5 separate regions of the Homo sapiens genome follow, and all the other regions are linked to region 1. Evidence: promoter capture Hi-C in 16 types of primary human blood cells and fetal thymus (Javierre and others, 2016). All regions are on one chromosome and are shown on one strand. Each heading gives the region's core, a stretch centred on a gene start or on the middle of the fragment in contact. The rest is flanking DNA. Distances are from core to core; before and after follow the strand shown.

Region 1 (2,700 bases), core at 26-2,525:
TCTGTTCAGATTATGAACAGCTGAACAGTAGTCAGTAGCAACTGATGGCTTTTTTGTTAGCTTAATAAATGGATAAAGAAATAGATTGGTAGGTTTTTCTTTTAGAAAAAGTTTATATATAGTGTGTGTTGTGCTGTGTGTTTAAACACATTTAAAAATTCATGTATAGATTTATCAGTCAGTTTGGAAAGCAGATGAATTCCAGAATCCTGAGAAAGTTATCGTAGGGTACCCTTGGTTAGGTGCACAGTGAAGGGCAAACAATAGCTGGCGTTTGACATTACCCAACATTGTTGGAGGCTTCTTTTCCTAAGTAAGTAAATAAATAAATAAATAAAAATCAAGGTTTACTCCTCACAACATATTTTAGTCTGTAGTCTAGGGGTGACCCTTCGGTGAGGAAACTCCTCCACAACATTCCATTTTGTTGTTTCCAGGAACACAAAAGTTAAAACTATATAGTCCATGTAGATTCAACGTATTCCTTTAAACCAGAAGACAGCCAGTGCTGCTGTTCAGGCTCTTTAAAGCTTATATAGGATACAAGTAAACTCAAGGAATTCACCGTACTGCCAGTGATAGTTTCCCTTAAATAAAGAGATGATACTTTTACTATAAGATTTTTGCTGCTATTTATCATGGAAGACAAAACACCGAAGAAATTCAGTTTGCAGTTGGTGGTCCAAATACTAACTGGAACAGATGGGCCAATTAAATCTACAAGAGACTGAACTATCCCTCGTGCTTAACACTCAGAGTCAGCAAGAAACATGCGTCTCTCTACAAGCAGGTACTTTAGCAACGTGTGACTCTTGAGTATGATAATCTATCGTAATCGCTAACGGAAGCAATCAGGTGCACGTAAAGAGGTTGGGGATCAGCTTCTGGTCACAAAAAACCGAGCAAGGATAATTCCACTACAAATGACTATTAGCTTTAGTGAAAAAGAATGGTAAGTTACACGGTGTAGATGAACTTTACAAGGCGAGAGCTCCCTAAAGAACACCCAGCCTGGCGGAGGGCAGCAGGCTCCACCCATGTCTCTGCAGTTTTGGTCCGGCCTCGGACTAACTACACCCTAGCAGCGGGAAACTTTCGCGTGTGCGCAGTAGGCCTGTCCAGTGCCGCGTGGGAAAGGCGGGACTTTCCTATCTCTTGCGTCACATCCACTGCGACGCAAGACGTCACCGGCTTGACTGGGAAGGTCAATCGCGGCTGCAGGCAGGCGCGCATGCGCTTTATGCCCGCTGTTGCTGGCGCGTGCGCGTATCAGCCTTGGCTGGCCGGTGTATGTCCGCTGGATTGTGAGGCCCGGGATCTGGGCTCCGCCGTGGTGCAGAAATGCTGTGCCGGCTCGGCGGTCGGTGGCTGCGGCCGCTCCCTGCCCTGCAGCTTTGGGCTAGGGACCTGCCGCTTGCGCCGGTTCCTACGAGCGGCGCCAAGCGCCCCACTCTCCCAGTGTGGGCAGTGGCACCAGTCTCTGCAGTACATGCGAACGGCTGGTACGAGGCCCTGGCCGCGTCTTCGCCGGTGCGGGTTGCGGAGGAAGTACTGCTCGGCGTGCACGCCGCCACGGGCCTGCCCTGGTGGGGCAGCATTCTGCTCTCCACCGTGGCCTTACGGGGTGCTGTCACGCTGCCTTTGGCAGCCTACCAGCACTACATCCTGGCCAAGGTGAGGGGCGCCGAGCCGTGCGCGTACCCTGCGCTGCAACCCCTGCGGCGGAGGAAGGCCGACATTCACTCAGGGTTTTCGATCGCACGATGTTGCCTTCTGCAGTGCTTAGTGTTTAATCATCGTGACCATTTCATTGTGACCATTTTAGCGTTAAAAAAAATTGAACTAGCATTAGGTGTGTTAAATAAGATACTTTGTGACACGTGTACCTGTCATTTCTTTTGTCTTACTGGATTTGTGCTCCAAGCACAAGTGGTTACTATACTTGCTCTCGGGGAACGGAGACAAAGAAATCAGTCGCAGAAGAAATTGTGTTGGCGAAACCTACAAAATTTATGTCTTAAAAGTTTTAATAGCCAGTATGTCTGCAGTGTCTTTCGTCCCAAAGTATTCCAGCTGGTCTTTCTTATTAGGAAGAAACTACTAGACTAACAGTTTGCGAACTTGTTTCCTCTCCAGACCCGACTAAGACTGTGTCTGGTTGGTCGCAGTTACTTGACCTTTTAATGCTGAATCCTTTTTTCTGAGGAATCAGGCTAGCAGTACCTTCCTTGCCTACTTCACAGCGTTATCAGAGCAAGTCAGATAATACGGGTTAAAGTGCTTGATTATTCAAATGGGATATTTCAAAAATAGTGGCTTTCTTGTTTTCAGGTTGTGAGCATGGGGAAAAAAAACCGGAAACAAAACAGGAACGGAATCAGCAGCAACATTAAGGCAGTGAGCCATTTTACAGGAAGAATGAGCACAGGGCAGGAATAAATGCTATTTTTACTTTTGATTTGTGGCTATCACAGTGTATTAAAGGTTCTTAACAAACTGCTGTTTTCTCCGCTTACGTTACTAGGAAATGTAGAGATGGAACAGTAAAGCCCAGGGTGCAGTTCTTATCTAATATTTGTAACCCTGTGAAGTAGGTGCTGTTATATATTTTATATGTGAGGGAACATGATTTTAGAGGTTAAGTTACTTGCACAGGATCACATGGATAAGTATGCATTGTGAATTTGGTTGTGACTGAGG
Region 2 (2,700 bases), core at 2-2,501, 2.1 Mb after region 1:
GAACCTAATTATCAAAATGTAGGTAATTTTACAATATATATTTCTTTACACACAATAAATGAATAACAGAGTGTTTTTATTTTTTTATTTTTTGAGACGGAGTCTTGCTCTGTCGCCCAGGCTGGAGTGCAGTGGCACAGTCCGCCTCTCGGATTCAAGCAATTCTCCTGCCTCAGCCTCCCGAGTAACTGGGACAACAGGCAAGCGCCACCGTGCCCGGCTAATTTTTTAATGTATTTTTTAGTAGAGATGGGGTTTCCCCACATTGGCCAGGCAGGTCTCAACTCCTGAGCTCGTGATCCGCCCACCTCGGCCTCCCTAAGTGCTGGGATTACAGGCGTGAGCCACCGCGCCCGGCCCACAGGGCGTTTTTAAAGCATGCAGACACAGTCCACAACAGCATTGGCTAGCATTTCAACTAGTCTTTCTCCCAAATACCATTAGTGACTTTGAGCAACTGTGGCTACTACCATTAAATATTCTTAACCTGAAGATTCAAACACAAATGCCTCTAACATAAATACTTCTGATACTCTGAGAAGACTTCTAAAATACACGTTTTGGCCAGGCGCGATGGCTCACGCCTATAATCCCAGCACTTTGGGAAGCCAAAGCTCATGGGTCACCTTAGGTCAGGAGTTTTGAGACCAGCCTGGCCAACATGGTGAAACCCTGTCTCTACTAAAAATACAAAAAATTAGCCGGACATAGTGGCATATGCCTGTAATCCCAGCTACTTGGGAGGCTGAGGCAGGAGAATCACTTGAACCCAGGAGGTGGAAGTTGCAGTGAGCTGAGGTCGTGCCATTGCACTCCAGCCTGGGCAACAGAGCAAGACTCCGTCTCATAAATAAAATAAAATAAAATACACATTTCCTTTTGGAACTTGGTAAATGATTCTCCAATATTATTAATATTCCTTAATGATCTGTAATGAAGACAAAATATTAAATAATAGCTTGGTGAAGAGGTCAACAAATGATTATTACTGTGCTAACTGTTCTCACTGTAATAGTATATATTATAGAAAACATACACCTGCATACTGCAGAATAAAGAAAAAAGTGAAAAAAGTAAAACAGAAACACTGGTTTCAAGTTCAGACACAGTAGGGTTTTAAAACCGTAATCCAAATCAGTGACTTGTACAATTTCTGAGCTTTAGTTTTCTAAGATGTTAAGACACTGGTTGTTGTGAACATTACAGAAAATAGTGCCTAACAAATTTTAAATGTTCAACATATTCCATATGCCATCAATATTTCCCTTGGAATGTGTTTAGTGTGGGAATGCCTATAGCAAAAATAAACAGTAATGCAAAGTCAGGATTCATGGCCAAACGTAACTATTTATTCATTTTTTTCTTATAAACATTGAGTTTCTTCTTTAAAAAAAAAAAAACACCTAGAATTTAAATATTTCCCATCCCATCACATACAAGTCTGTATACATTATTTACATCTTTTGAATAAAACATATTACAGATTTTCTGACATCAGTATCCCTTTTTAAACAAAAATGAAGCAATTAAACTTTGATCAGTAACAACTACAATTTGCATAATCCGGCACAGTTTGTAATATAGCGCCTATGTTGGATTTCATAACTTAGATGATTTTTCCCCTTCTAGTTACTTGATTATAAGAGAGAAACTGTCTCCATGAGAGTAGTTCCCTGTCTTTATGCACTCTTCTCAATACTTGCACAGTGTAAATGCCGCCCTTATTCTTCCATTACTTGGCACTGACAATATTCCTCTGCTTTTGTCTTCAGAAATGATTTCTATTTGAACTTTAAGTGTTCTCATATATACTGTATTCTCCTTCAACCCAGATTTCATGACACTGTTCCTAGTGTTAATTCTATGCAGTAAAAGTTAAACCTATAGGAAAAGTTCAAATAAAACATCAAGTAAGTGTTTCCTACAAGATTAGTGCCCTCACCACCCTGGTTATGCATGTACAATAATAAATACAAGTTAGTAGCTCCAAAAAAACTACTTTCCCTAAAAAGTCATTTCTGTCGAACAATTTAAGGAGCAAAGCATCCTTAAAATGAAAATGCACTAATCTTTTTTACAACCTGCACAATTAAGTATTTCAGAAAAACAAAAACTTGTGCAAAATGGTAAGAAACGCCCACCTATACAAATTTAATATTAAATCAGATGAGAACATGAATTTATAAGTAAAAAACAATTTAATATTAATAATATATAGAGAAATTAAATATTGAAATTTTAACTTTGTATCACTAATAATCTCAGCTTCAGTGAAATAATTTAAAAAAAGCTGTCAAACACTAATTTCCTAAATAAACTGAAACCTATGAATTGACAGTAAATACTTCAGAATCTCTAACAATGAAGACCTGCAAAATCAGCCTAATTATTTTCCAGTGTGTGTGTACACGCACAGTGGAAAAACATACAGCTGGAAAAAGCCAGTGATTTTACTATCTACCTTTGAGAACTATAGCCCATATTTTTCAATTATTTAGTTCTATATGCAGAAAAAGTTATTACATTTGCAAAACTCATTTTTGTATTTTCTCTCTTTTGTCAAAATGTGAATCAGTTCAGCTACAAGTGACAGACATACAGTGCAGTTTTATACCTTCAAAATGGATTATTCTCTGTGATCAGCCTATTAGGAAAGCCTTAAAAATTCAGAATCAACTGTGGTCAGAATTTTTGTTACAT
Region 3 (2,700 bases), core at 81-2,580, 2.2 Mb after region 1:
CTGGCCCAGTAGAGTGCAAGTCTTAAAGCCTGAGTTGTCTTCTTAGGTTATGGTTGTAGTGCTTCGTGGATTCTTACTAAATTCCAGTTTTACTTAATCCGATAAAAGAGACTTTACAAGTCTGTAGCCTCACACTGCTGCCGTTGTCTTTAAGATCTTTCCCTTAATCACTTGGTCTGGCATACCAGCTGACAGAGGAATATTCCCAAGGCGTCCTGCTGTCTTGTTGATTTACCCAGTCCTCAGTGTCTTGTATTAACTTATCTTTGCCTACCAAGTGAAGGACACACATTGAGCTCCACACTCAAGGCCCTCTGCTCTATGGTACCAACCTCTTTTGCCAGGTCACCTTCTTTGGCTCCTAATTTAAACAGTTGGAATTAATTGCTGTTATTCAAATGGGCATTTGGTCGTACTGCTTCTTTCTCTCGCCTTCAAACTGGAATACCCTATCTTTTATATCCTCATAAAAATTCTATCCTTCCTTCAAGGCCCATCTCATGTCACATCCTGATTCATCTGTTAGTGCTCTGATTTGAATTCCTGTAGTATTTTGTATCTTAATTATAGCACTCAGTATCTCATCTTGTATGCTTATCGTATTCTAGATAGCTATTTCAGATGAGGGCGGCAAACACTGTGTGTAGGGGCAATCAAATATTTGTCAAATTGTCAGGACCTTTCTTGTGTTGCCTTAACTACACTATTGTTAGCTATAATTTGGGGTTGATGAATTTTAAAACAAACCCTGAATGAAATTTGTGTCCTGCCAAACCTTTAGGATATACCTGCTTATGGCTTTTGGATGTACAATTTAAGCCAAAACAGGATGGGTTACATTGGTGAAGTTTACTTTTTGCTTCTGAAATAACATCTAGAATGTTAGTTTGTAGAATAAACATTTTCTAAGAATTTTTTTACATTTTTTACCTGTAAATGCAACTCTTTTTACAATTCTTCATTTCCTTTGGAAGGAGTCCAAAACTACTTACCTGGAAGACCTTCCACCACCCCCTGAGTATGAATTGGCCCCGTCCAAGTTAGAAGAGGAAGTGGATGATGTCTTTCTCATTCGAGCTCAAGGACTGCCCTGGTCATGCACTATGGAAGATGTGCTTAACTTTTTTTCAGGTATATTTTATGTATGTTTTATTTATTTATTTTTTTTCCTTATATTGTTTCTCACAAGCAGGTATGTATGTTTTAAGTATGTAATTTTGTCTGAGTAAAAGGTAGTGCTACAAATCCATGTCAGACTACGCTGTCACCTTCCTTTTTGATGGTTGGGAACTGTCTCATTCTGGTTGGTTGCATATACCAAATGATACCATGTGTGCTGTTTGCGGTATGTAACGAATTGAAAGACTTTGGGCCAGGGGCAGTGGCTCAGGCCTGTAATCAGCAGTTTGGGAGGCCAAGGTGGAAGGATGGCTTGAGGCCAGTAGTTCCATACCACACTGGGCAACACTGTGAGACTGTCTCAATTTACATATGTATAAAGACTTTGAATGCAACAAAAGTATTTTAACGTTAAGACTGCATAGTATGGGCCAGGCGCAGTGGCTCACGCCTGTAATCCCAGCACTTTGGGAGGCCGAGGCGGGCGGATCACAAGCTCAGGAGATCGAGACCATCCTGGCTAACATAGTGAAACCCCGTCTCTACTAAAAATACAAAAATTACCCAGGCTTGTAGTCCCAGCTACTTGGGAGGCTGAGGCAGGAGAATGGTGTGAATCCGGGAGGTGGAGCTTGCAGTGAGCCGAGATGGTGCCACTGCATTCCAGCCTGGGCGACAGAGTGAGACTCTGTCTCAAAAAAAAAAAAAAATCCATCATACTATGTAGGTTTTTTTTTTTTTGAGACGGAGTCTCGCTCTGTCGCCAGGCTGGAGTGCAGTGGCATGATCTCAGCTCACTGCAAGCTCCGCCTCCCGGGTTCACACCATTCTCCTGCCTCAGCCTCCCTAGTAGCGACTGCCACCACACCCAGTTAATTTTTTGTATTTTTAGTAGAGCTGGGGTTTCACCGTGTTAGCCAGGATGATCTCAATCTCCTGACCTTGTGATCTGCCTGCCTCGGCTTCCCACAGTGCTGGGATTACAGGCGTGAGCCACCGTGCCCGGCTGGTATGATGGAATACTACGTAGCCATAACAAAGAGTGAGATTATGTGCTTTGCAGCAATGTGGGTGGTGCTGGAGACCATTATCCTAAGCAAACTAACATGGAACATTAAACTTAATACTGTATGTTTTCACTTACAAGTGGGAGCTAAACAATGAGAACACATGGACACAAAGAGGGGAACAAGAAGACACCAGGGCCAACTTGAGGGTTGGGGAGAAGATTAAAAAATACCTATCGGGTCCAAGTGCGGTGGCTCACGCCTGTAATCCCAGCACTTTGGGAGGCCGAGGCGGGCGGATCACGAGGTCAGGAGATCGAGACCATCCTGGCTAACATGTTGAAACCCCATCTCTCCTAAAAATACAAAAAAAATTAGCCGGGCGTGGTGGCACGCTCCCGTAGTCCCAGCTACCTGGGAGGCTGAGGCAGGAGAATCGCTTGAATCTGGGAGGCGGAGGTTGCAGTGAGCTGAGTTCACACCACTGTACTCCAGCCGTGGTGACAGAGAGAGACTCTGTCTCAAAAAGAAAAATAAAACCTATTGGGTACTGTGCTTGCTACCTGGGTAACTA
Region 4 (2,700 bases), core at 24-2,523, 2.0 Mb after region 1:
ATTTTAGGAGTTATTTATTGCTCTGTCACCCAGGCTGAGTACAGTGGTGCAATCAAAGCTCACTGCAGCCTTGAACTCCTGGCTAGGTGCACACCATCATGTCTGGCTAGTTTTTGTTTGTTTTTTATAGAGATGAGGTCTCACTATGTTGCCCAAGCTGGTCAGGAACTCCTGGGCTCAAGCAGTCTTCCCACCTCAGCCTCCCAAAGTGCTGGGATTACAGGTGTGAGCCACTGCATCTATCAATCTAAGATAGATATAGTTCTAAAATAGCTGTAACACCAATTTTATAATCTCTTCATTTAAATATCATAGACCACTGACATATGCAGCTTTAACACTGATAACATTAATAAGCACAATAGTTCAAGCAACTTTGAAAATCAAACATGTAGTAGATTTGTCATGTTTCTGAAGCACATATGTGAATCACATACTTTGCAATGTCAGTGTGTGCAGAAAATCATGTAAGGAGTCAATGAACCTAGCCTACTGACCATAATGTAAGAATATGCTTGTTCTCTACATATTCTAGGCTACTCAATAATTCTCAAGAAACAAAAATTATTGCCTTGTAAAAATACCTTAATAAGAAAGTCAACTGCTAGCATTATTAATAAAAGTAAATATAATAATGTGAAATGATTCTTAGTCAAAACAAAGAAGTGTTAGATAAAATTAAAAAGTGATTTACAAAGTCAGTTAAATTGATGGTTGGCTGTTAATACTTAATGCTGACTTTTCATTTAATAGTATTGTAAGTGAATTTATCCTATATTTTTAACATCATTAGTAGTATGAAGAGGTCATTGGAATTTTCCAGATAAGCTTTAGTTCATACCATGGGAAAAACAACTACATGTATACGCTACAGTAGTTACATAAAATGTCAAGATTTTCAAAATCCTTGATATATCCCTTATGAATGTCAAGTCTCTATTAAACAGCAGACATTATGCCACAAAAGAAAGGAAAAATCAAATTTTTCTCAAAACTAAACCAAATTGTGCTTTCTTCTTTATAGCTTAATCACTCAGTTATCAACATGGGTATAGGGATATTTGTTATACCAATTCCCTTACTATTCTCTCTCAAATATTCATCAATAAATTCTCACCCATTCCCTTTATCAATATGGGCACCACTCACTTAACAGAATATAGTCAACTCCCAGTGATTTGGGCAATAAATGAACTGTGATTAAGACAATGACTCAATGATTAAGTAATGTCAATTAATCCTTGACATGATCCCAAATGAAACTCAAAACTAAAATCCCTTAATCTCAAGACTTTGGCCAACATAAAAATAGATGAGATCCATATCCTGTAACTTTAAATATCCTCCATATTGAATTTAGTTGAAAAAGATAAATTTAATTTCACAAGCAGTTTATTATTAAAGTATCTAAAGATTGGTGGTGTAGGGAAGAGAGGAAGAAATGGGGACAAAGCAGAGAAAAAGGGGGTGAGAAAGAATTTTTGTTATTATAATTTTACCTATCCTACAGATAGAGGCACTAAAGGATAAAAAAAAATCCTTATTTTATTTTTATTTATTTAATTTTTTTCTAAGATCTGTCAGATTCTGAGATTCCGAAGGATCTTTATTTTAGCTCAGGCCACAAAGCTAGAATTTAGTCAGGACTGGAATCTTAAACAGTCCAAAATCTTCTAAAGCTCTTAACTGTTTCTTAATGTAACTTTATGGAAGCTTTTCTGTTAGAAAATTGTTTTCTCACCACTCAGTACACTTTTTTAGAAAAAACAAATATTTGTTTGTAGTCTGTCTAAATCTACCTTTTCAACCAGACTTTCATATTTGTCTTTAAAGTCTTCATTAACATCCAGTGTTAAGATAGGCACCTCTTGAAGATAATCGAAGTTGGTTCTGTTTAAAAAGAGAGATTAATAAAATAATCAGAAATTCAACAAAAAAAAGAGAGAAACATTAAAAATTCATTCGTATGTCCTTGGAAAATCAAAATGTTGTCAATCATTTACACTAAAGTTACTTTGCAGTACTTCATCTGGCAGCCCCTTCTTTCTCATCTAGATTTACCATATGGAGCCCAAAAACTTAGGTACAAAATATATACAGCTGGGTACTGTAACATATGATTCTCTTCAAAAACAAATAGCAGTCAATAAAGTAGGAATTTCTGCATTTTTAAAGATGAGAAAACTAAAGCTCAGAATTGTCATTCTGAAGCTCAGAGGCTATCCAAGGTCACACACCAGTAAGACTGGACTTGAGCCAAGATCTGACTAATAACAAAGTCTATCCTCTCAACAACCACGCTATACAATCTCCCAAGTCAAAATTCTTTCTGAAAGAGTACCTAAATAATGTTCAGATATATTCCTACTTTATCACTTAAAGTGAAATTTCACATATTACGCTATCAATACCACCAAGGGATACTAGTTATAAAAACTTTAAGTAAATAGGATCTCATTGCAATCAAGAGAATGAAAATCTATACCTAGTTCTGGAAGATACCAATAAGCAAAACGACTGGAAATTTTACATATTGCTAGTCATATCTTCCAAATTTTAGATTAAAATTTAACAAAGGTAACAAAGGTATTTAAAATGAATAGTAAATAAAAATAAGTCTTACTTCAGTGTCCTATGCAGGAGCCAGCTTTCATGTTTATAATGAAGCTTCTCTAAATATTCAAGAGGAATGCCTTGCTC
Region 5 (2,700 bases), core at 67-2,566, 2.2 Mb after region 1:
ACAGAGTCTCACTCTCTATCAGCCAGGCTAGAGTGCAGTGGCATGATTACATCTCACCACAGCCTTGAAGTATTTAATTTCCTCAGGCTCAGATGACCCTTCCACCTCAGCCCCCAGAGTAGCTGGGACTACAGGCTCACACCACCACACCTGGCTAATTTTTGTATTTTTAGGGGTAGAAAGAGAGTTTCGCCATGTTGTCCAGGTTGGTGTGGAACTCTGGGGTCAAGTGATCCACTCACCTCAGCCTCCCAAAGTGTTGGAATTACAAGCAGGAGCCACTGTGCCCGGCCCACAGTGCATCTTTTAAAAATCAGTAGTAGTTCTTTCCTTCTATCTTAGAGCCCTCAAGAGTCATGAGTCACCACCTTTGCAGCCCCATCTTGCATTGCCCTTATTTCCTCTGCTCCATCCACTGATCGTAGGCTTCCCAGTAAGCTTCCAAGAACGGGAGGAAAATATTTGTATTTAACTCCTAAGCTGTAACGCTTTCCTTCTCTGCTCATCTGTTGGTACAGAAATAGTATTCAGATAGCCAGGTGTAATGGCTCACACCTGTAACCTCAGCATCTTGGAAGGCAAAGATGAGTGGATTGTTTGAGCCCAGGAGACCAGCCTGGGCAACATGGCAAAACCCTGACTCTACCGAAAAAAAAAAAATTAGCTAGGCATAGTGGAGCATACCTGTAGTACCAGCTACTTGTAGCGGGGAGGGGGTTTGAGATGAAAGGATCACCTGAGCCTGGGAAGTCAAAGCTACAGTTAGCTGTGGTCATGCCACTGCACTCCATCCTGGTCGACAGAGTGAGATCCTGTCTCCAAAAAAAAAAAAAGAAACAGTATTCAGACAGTTATACCAAATAACAAATAGAAGAAATAACCAAAGCTTTGTTCTTTCACTTCCAATAATAATCATTTCCATGTGGTGTTCACTTTGGATTTTTAATTGACGGTAGACAAAGACCAAAACTGAAAATGTTGAATTAACTTTTCTGATTGTCAAGCACATGGGCTAAATATGTTGAGAATATATCAACTGCTAGATAGATATAACCTAACTGAAAAATTGTGCCCCAAATAGTGCAAATGCTCTAAAGTTCTATATACATTAGTTACAGCAAGATTTCTTTTGTAGTTACTAACCTTCAGGAGAAACAAACTAATCCACCACAAATCTGAATCTATTAAATACTGAGCCATGTAAAAATAGGATTCTACTGTATTTGTATTCAAAAAATAGCATCAGAAACTTCTCCATCCCCTAGTTTCAGCCAAATATGGCTCTTCCCTGCTTTAACCTTTTTTTTTTTTTTTTTTGAGACAGAGTCTCACTCTGCCACCCAGGCTGGAGTGCAGTGGCGCGATCTCGTCTCACTTCAACCTCTACCTCCCGGGTTCAAGTGATACTCCCGTCTCAGCCTCCCAAGTAGCTGGGACTACAGGTGCGTGCCACCTTGCCCAGCTAATTTTTGTATTTTTAGTAGAGACGGGGTTTCACCATATTGGCCAGGCTGATCTCGAACTCCTGACCTGGTGATCTGCCTGTCTTGGCCTCCCAAAGTGCTGGGATTACAGGCATGAGCCACCGCGACTGGCCTTGCTTTAACCAATTTAGCTTACTAGACACAAGCCCATCAGCAGTAGTCATGGATATCATCTACAGTGCTATTTTGAATACAGCTTCTAAATTCTTGAAAACAATCAAACATTAGCAATGTAAAATTAAGCTCAAGATGAGAAGCTTCAAGTTGAGATACCTGAATATGGTGATTAGAACTAAAACAAGAAACTGCCCAGGCACGGTGGGCTCACGTCTGTAATCCCAGCACTTTGGGAGATCAAGGCAGGCAGATCACTTGAAATCAGGAGTTCGAGACCAGCCTGGCCAACATGGTGAAACCCCCATCTCTATTAAAAATACAAAAATTAGCCAGGCGTGGTGGCGCGGGCCTGTAGTCCCAGCTACTCAGGAGGCTGAGGCAGGAGAATCGCTTGAACCCGGGAGGCAGAGGTTGCAGTGAGCCGAGATCACGCCACTACACACTCCAGCCTGGTGACAGAGCGGAGACTCCGTCTCAAAAAAAAAAAAAAAAAAAAAAAAGAACTAAAATAAGAAACAAGGACTTTTTTATAAAATCACCCAGTCCTGTCATCTAGCCCTATGCCAATCCGACAAACTCAGAATCAACTTCTAGGAGGAGCCTAAGAAATCCCTTTCCGTTTAAAGGTTTTAGGCAAGTTGACACAAGCCAGGTCCCCTATGCATATTGGAAATATCAAGTCTGCCCCTAGGTCAGCCTTGTTCAGTTTTGCTTAAACACCCTAAAAAAAAAAATTCTAGATGTGAGCATGTGAAAATAAGAGTGAATTAAATTCTCAGTATTCAGACGTCAATGTAATGACTAAAAATTATTAGGCAAGGAAAGAAGAGAAATCTTAAGAAAATATCCTTTAAATGCTAATTTCTCCACAACAGTAAAACAGTATATGGGTGAGTTTCAACTTCTAAGTTTTTTATTAGTTTTCTAAACACAGACTAAACATGGAATGAGTGCATCACAACGAAGCCTTCAAAGGAGTTATTCCTCAGGCTGTAACCCCTGTTTTCAGAGGACCTGAGGCTTATCTACTGCCTCCATATCCACATCTGGCCATCCCATCCTTCTGCCCTTCCCCCTCCACGTTCCCCTCCACTCGTCT

The links. Contacts are between HindIII fragments. The CHiCAGO score rates a contact against its expected background, and 5 or more counts as called.
Region 2: a fragment that was not itself captured here is called in contact with the fragment with the promoter of COX18 in region 1 in 1 of 17 cell types (total CD4 T cells); the score reaches 6.7 in total CD4 T cells.
Region 3: a contact is called between a fragment that was not itself captured here and the fragment with the promoter of COX18 in region 1, in 4 of 17 cell types (total CD8 T cells, non-activated CD4 T cells, activated CD4 T cells and 1 more). The highest score is 11.1, in total CD8 T cells.
Region 4: a fragment that was not itself captured here is called in contact with the fragment with the promoter of COX18 in region 1 in 1 of 17 cell types (total CD8 T cells); the score reaches 6.2 in total CD8 T cells.
Region 5: a fragment that was not itself captured here is called in contact with the fragment with the promoter of COX18 in region 1 in 2 of 17 cell types (activated CD4 T cells and fetal thymus); the score reaches 6.1 in activated CD4 T cells.

The regions. Positions count from the first base shown.
Region 1 is chr4:73,068,291-73,070,990 of GRCh38, reverse strand. COX18 (cytochrome c oxidase assembly factor COX18) reads left to right here and starts at 1,275. Exons shown (of 6, transcript NM_001297732.2): 1 at 1,275-1,674. The coding sequence starts at 1,342. LOC112268467 (a long non-coding RNA gene) reads right to left here and starts at 1,045. Exons shown (of 2, transcript XR_002959797.2): 1 at 962-1,045. RefSeq lists enhancers at 924-1,440, 987-1,506, 1,441-1,956. The HindIII fragment of the contact is 3,732 bases long and covers 533-2,700 here.
Region 2 is chr4:70,986,796-70,989,495 of GRCh38, reverse strand. MOB1B (MOB kinase activator 1B) reads right to left here. Exons shown (of 6, transcript NM_173468.4): 6 at 1,328-2,700. Among named protein-coding and RNA genes, the nearest start is that of DCK, 5.5 kb to the left of the region's middle. The HindIII fragment of the contact is 3,316 bases long and covers 1-2,700 here.
Region 3 is chr4:70,834,589-70,837,288 of GRCh38, reverse strand. GRSF1 (G-rich RNA sequence binding factor 1) reads left to right here. Exons shown (of 10, transcript NM_002092.4): 2 at 975-1,131. Among named protein-coding and RNA genes, the nearest start is that of GRSF1, 4.0 kb to the left of the region's middle. The HindIII fragment of the contact is 4,947 bases long and covers 1-2,700 here.
Region 4 is chr4:71,025,855-71,028,554 of GRCh38, reverse strand. It overlaps DCK (deoxycytidine kinase), which reads right to left. Exons shown (of 7, transcript NM_000788.3): 5 at 2,624-2,700; 6 at 1,800-1,890. Among named protein-coding and RNA genes, the nearest start is that of DCK, 34 kb to the right of the region's middle. The HindIII fragment of the contact is 885 bases long and covers 831-1,715 here.
Region 5 is chr4:70,903,376-70,906,075 of GRCh38, reverse strand. The region is part of intron 1 of MOB1B (MOB kinase activator 1B); the gene reads right to left. Among named protein-coding and RNA genes, the nearest start is that of MOB1B, 2.4 kb to the right of the region's middle. The HindIII fragment of the contact is 855 bases long and covers 889-1,743 here.